Linked DNA regions of Homo sapiens: region 1 is linked to region 2. Evidence: promoter capture Hi-C in human tissues and cell types (Jung and others, 2019). All regions are on one chromosome and are shown on one strand. Each heading gives the region's core, a stretch centred on a gene start or on the middle of the fragment in contact. The rest is flanking DNA. Distances are from core to core; before and after follow the strand shown.

The links. Contacts are between HindIII fragments. The study calls those that stand out against the background at their distance.
Region 1: a fragment that was not itself captured here is called in contact with the fragment with the promoter of HCN4 in region 2 in 1 of the 25 tissues and cell types used here (heart left ventricle).

What each region holds. Positions count from the first base shown.
Region 1 is chr15:73,530,504-73,533,203 of GRCh38, reverse strand. All of the region lies in intron 2 of REC114 (REC114 meiotic recombination protein), which reads right to left. Among named protein-coding and RNA genes, the nearest start is that of NPTN-IT1, 38 kb to the left of the region's middle. The HindIII fragment of the contact is 4,245 bases long and covers 1-2,700 here.
Region 2 is chr15:73,367,623-73,370,322 of GRCh38, reverse strand. It overlaps HCN4 (hyperpolarization activated cyclic nucleotide gated potassium channel 4), which reads left to right and starts at 1,365. Exons shown (of 8, transcript NM_005477.3): 1 at 1,365-2,700. The coding sequence starts at 2,053. The HindIII fragment of the contact is 7,967 bases long and covers 1-2,700 here.

The DNA.
Region 1 (2,700 bases), core at 198-2,697, 160 kb before region 2:
TACATTTAAAGTTAATATTGTTATGTGTGAATTTGATCCTGTCATTATGATGTTAGCTGGTTATTTTGCTCGTTAGTTGATGCAGTTTCTTCCTAGTCTCAATGGTCTTTACATTTTGGCATGATTTTGCAGCAGCTGGTACCGGTTGTTCCTTTCCATGTTTAGTGCTTCCTTCAGGAGCTCTTGTAAGGCAGGCCTGGTGGTGACAAAATCTCTCAGCATTTGCTTGTCTGTAAAGTATTTAATTTCTCCTTCACTTATGAAGCTTAGTTTGGCTGGATATGAAATTCTGGGTTGAAAATTCTTTTCTTTAAGAATGTTGAATATTGGCCCCCACTCTCTTCTGGCTTGTAGGGTTTCTGCCGAGAGATCCGCTGTTAGTCTGATGGGCTTCCCTTTGAGGGTAACCCGACCTTTCTCTCTGGCTGCCCTTAACATTTTTTCCTTTATTTCAACTTTGGTGAATCTGACAATTATGTGCCTTGGAGTTGCTCTTCTCGAGGAGTATCTTTGTGGCATTCTCTGTATTTCCTGAATCTGAACGTTGGCCTGCCTTGCTAGTGCTGGAGAGGATGTGGAGAAATAGGAACACTTTTACACTGTTGGTGGGACTGTAAACTAGTTCAACCATTGTGGAAGTCAGTGTGGCGATTCCTCAGGGATCTAGAACTGGAAATACCATTTGACCCAGCCATCCCATTACTGGGTATATACCCAAAGGACTATAAATCATGCTGCTATAAAGACACATGCACACGTATGTTTACTGTGGCACTATTCACAATAGCAAAGACTTGGAACCAACCCAAATGTCCAACAATGATAGATTGGATTAAGAAAATGTGGCACATATACACCATGGAATACTATGCAGCCATAAAAAATGATGAGTTCATGTCCTTTGTAGGGACATGGATGAAATTGGAAATCATCATTCTCAGTAAACTATCGCAAGAACAAAAAACCAAACACCGCATATTCTCACTCATAGGTGGGAACTGAACAATAAGATCACATGGACACAGGAAGGGGAATATCACACTCTGGGGACTGTTGTGGGGTGGGGCGAGGGGGGAGGGATAGCATCGGGAGATATACCTAATGCTAGATGACGAGTTAGTGGGTGCAGCTCACCAGCATGGCACATGTATACATATGTAACTAACCTGCACAATGTGCACATGTACCCTAAAACTTAAAGTATTAAAAAAAAAAAAAAAAGAGTGGAGAACTCTAGGAAATGCTAATTTACCATCAGACAAAAGAACAAGAGCCAATACCAAGAATTAATGTCCAGGACAGAGTAATGTGGAAGCTAAGAGGGGTGAGAGTTTCCAGCAGAGAAACTTGTCAATGGTGTCAGGTGATGCACAGGGATGGAGTAGAAATAAGGGCTGTCAAATCTGCATGGAGTCTAGCAGCAGGAGGTGCTGTGCCCTGCAATGGCTGGCTGTTGCTTCTACCCTGTCTTCTTTTTGTAGCCCCTACACCTCACTGCAAACTTCATGAGATCAAGAACTGGGGTACATTCATCTTTGTGCCCAGCATGTCTGTTGAATGAAAGAGGGCCAATTTCTGGCACATGGTTGACACCCCCATTTCCTCCTAACACACTTTGACCCATCCCTTAATTTGCCCAGTTCTGGCACAGCCTGAGGGGCAGTGGCCAGAATGCCACCAAGATGGGGCGCCACACTACACTTCATATAAAGAGAATCTCAAGCTTTGCTTTTCATGCATTATAAATTATGAAGTGCGTTTCTAAATTGTGGTCATCCATGCACTCCGTGGCCCCTGCTATCATACATAATGAAGACTTGCCATAGAGATAAAAAGGAAGCCATCAACGAAAGGGAGAAAAGTACCTAAGAAAATGGATGCACAGATAAGATGTACACAATCTGAAGTCCAAAGATGGTGGGAAAAACTACCTGTGCCCTTAACCCTACTGAGTCTGTTTCCCTTGCTGTTGACTCTGCCATTGAGCTAGTTCCATTAGTACCTCAGACACCCCTCAGTTCTGACTTCACCTACCAGTTTGGGCAAGGAAGCCAGGAGAATATCATGGGGTGTCACTGGCATTTAGCTAGGTAAATTAGCTTTAAAATCTTCCCATTATGATTTTGTAAATGCTTTGAAGAAAACAGCATTTTATTTTTATGAAAATGACAATTCTAAATGTTCACACCTGCTGTTAAAACCCTGATTCAGAGGAAAACAGCATAGGAGAATCAGGTTACAAAAGTAACTGGATGACTGATCATTTCACAGTGCACCTCGTCCCCAGGCCCAGAACACCAAAAGCGCTTCTTGATGAATGTGAGAAGGTGTTTTGGTGCCAGGTGATTTATTTAAAAATTAGACCCTGGCTTAAGCTTCAGGGTTGTGTTTCTGACTCACTATCCTGGAGCTCAGTTTGTGAGGATCAAATTTCACTGAAAACAGAAAAAAAAAAATCCATGATAAGAGAATTGCTACAAATATGAAGACAACGATGTGAAGAGGGAAAACAAAGCAAAAGATTGGGATTTCTAAAATTACATTTTCTTTTTTCTGGAGACAGAGTTTTGCTCTGTTGCCAAGGATGGAGTGCAGTGGTACGATGATAACTCACTGCAGCCTTGATCTCCTGGGCTCAAGCAGTCCTCCCACCTCAGCCTCCTGAATAGCTGGGACCATAGGCATGCACCACCATGCCCA
Region 2 (2,700 bases), core at 116-2,615:
CTGTGGGAGGTCCTGTGGTCCAGTGGGTAGAGCAGAAGAGCCCCTGCTAGGCTGCCCGCCCCGCATCCTGCTCTCCAAATTCCTACTCTGGATGGAGGAGGCGAAAGTGGTCACATTGGGCTAAGAATGAGAGTAAAAAAATCATTTGAAGAAAAACTTGATGTTATTCCTCAGAGAGATGGCAGAGCCAGGGGACCTTTTTGCCTCCCTCCTGTGAGACTTTGCTGTGTGTCCGCTCCAGCATTAACCTCGGCTCCAGCCTTCTCTGGACAACTCCCCTCCCCTTAATGCCCAATCTGTCCCCCTATCCATTTCTGAGCTAATCTGGGGTATCAGGCTGTCCATGGTGTTGGAGGGGGTAGGGCTATACCTTAGGCTGAGCTAGTGAAATCTGTCCATAAGCCCGGACACTGTACACTGGGAGAGACTGGGAGAGAGGACACACAGTTGGATCCTTGGCGGGGGTTGGGGGGAAGGGGGCTGGGCTGCAGACTGGAAGGGAGTGGGGGCTGTGCAGCTGCTTGGGGGTGCAGGTAGGGGACTGGGTGGAACAGGAACTCACCCAGCGTGGGTCCACATAGTAGGTGTCATAATGTGGATGGGAACACAGGGAGAAGGGGCTCCAAAGCCAGTTCCAGAGTGCTGGGGCGTCCGAGGAACCGGCCCAACCGCTCCCCGCTGCAGCCGGCTTGTCCCTTTCTCGGAACTACCGAGGGAGAGGCGCGTGCGGAGGTCGGCGTTCGGATCTCGCATCCGTCACTGTTGCCGGCGCATTTCCTCGAAGTCTTACCTCGAAGGGCTGGGTCCCACCCGCGCGCCCTGTGCGTGTCTCCCTGTTTCCCCACGCCCTCCTTGCCTGGCTGCTGCGAGGCTTTGCAGGGGAAAGACTGGCGCGGGGTTCGCACCCTGCCCATGTCACAGGAAAACCGTGGGAGCCTCCCCGACGCGGCGCATTTCCGGAAGCCCCCTCTCCAGGAGGGTTGCGGGAAGGCCGGGACTCTGCATCCAGACGAACCCGGTCGCCTCCCAAGAGGAAAGTCGGAGACCCAGCTGAGGGGCAAAAATGCCAGGGAAAGGCGAGCCCAGAGCTTGGTGATGGAGAAATTGGGAAGCCACCCCCCACCCTTCAATCTTAGGATGGGGAATTCGCAACTGAAGCCGGAGCTTCAGACTTGGGGCGCACTCCCAGCTTAGCCCAGGAAAGAGATTTAAGGGCGCAGCAGTGTGGATACCTCTCACCCCGGCCCCGAAGGTCTAGCGAGGGTCTAACCTGGGCCCCTTGCCAGGCCCGCCCCCCGCCCCTTTCCAGCCCCCGGCCCGTGCGCCGCTGCCCCTTTAAGAAGCCCAGGTAGGCAGGCCCGGCTGCTGGAGCCGCTCCTATGGCAACCCGCGAGCTGCGGCGGCTTCATGAATATTCCGGGGCGCGGGAGCCCGAGCGCTGCCGGAGGGCGCTTCGGGGGAGGCGGCCGCTGATGTAAGCCCGGCGGGTCGCTGGGCTCCGCTCGGTTGCGGCGGGAGCCCCGGGACGGGCCGGACGGGCCGGGGCAGAGGAGGCGAGGCGAGCTCGCGGGTGGCCAGCCACAAAGCCCGGGCGGCGAGACAGACGGACAGCCAGCCCTCCCGCGGGACGCACGCCCGGGACCCGCGCGGGCCGTGCGCTCTGCACTCCGGAGCGGTTCCCTGAGCGCCGCGGCCGCAGAGCCTCTCCGGCCGGCGCCCATTGTTCCCCGCGGGGGCGGGGCGCCTGGAGCCGGGCGGCGCGCCGCGCCCCTGAACGCCAGAGGGAGGGAGGGAGGCAAGAAGGGAGCGCGGGGTCCCCGCGCCCAGCCGGGCCCGGGAGGAGGTGTAGCGCGGCGAGCCCGGGGACTCGGAGCGGGACTAGGATCCTCCCCGCGGCGCGCAGCCTGCCCAAGCATGGGCGCCTGAGGCTGCCCCCACGCCGGCGGCAAAGGACGCGTCCCCACGGGCGGACTGACCGGCGGGCGGACCTGGAGCCCGTCCGCGGCGCCGCGCTCCTGCCCCCGGCCCGGTCCGACCCCGGCCCCTGGCGCCATGGACAAGCTGCCGCCGTCCATGCGCAAGCGGCTCTACAGCCTCCCGCAGCAGGTGGGGGCCAAGGCGTGGATCATGGACGAGGAAGAGGACGCCGAGGAGGAGGGGGCCGGGGGCCGCCAAGACCCCAGCCGCAGGAGCATCCGGCTGCGGCCACTGCCCTCGCCCTCCCCCTCGGCGGCCGCGGGTGGCACGGAGTCCCGGAGCTCGGCCCTCGGGGCAGCGGACAGCGAAGGGCCGGCCCGCGGCGCGGGCAAGTCCAGCACGAACGGCGACTGCAGGCGCTTCCGCGGGAGCCTGGCCTCGCTGGGCAGCCGGGGCGGCGGCAGCGGCGGCACGGGGAGCGGCAGCAGTCACGGACACCTGCATGACTCCGCGGAGGAGCGGCGGCTCATCGCCGAGGGCGACGCGTCCCCCGGCGAGGACAGGACGCCCCCAGGCCTGGCGGCCGAGCCCGAGCGCCCCGGCGCCTCGGCGCAGCCCGCAGCCTCGCCGCCGCCGCCCCAGCAGCCACCGCAGCCGGCCTCCGCCTCCTGCGAGCAGCCCTCGGTGGACACCGCTATCAAAGTGGAGGGAGGCGCGGCTGCCGGCGACCAGATCCTCCCGGAGGCCGAGGTGCGCCTGGGCCAGGCCGGCTTCATGCAGCGC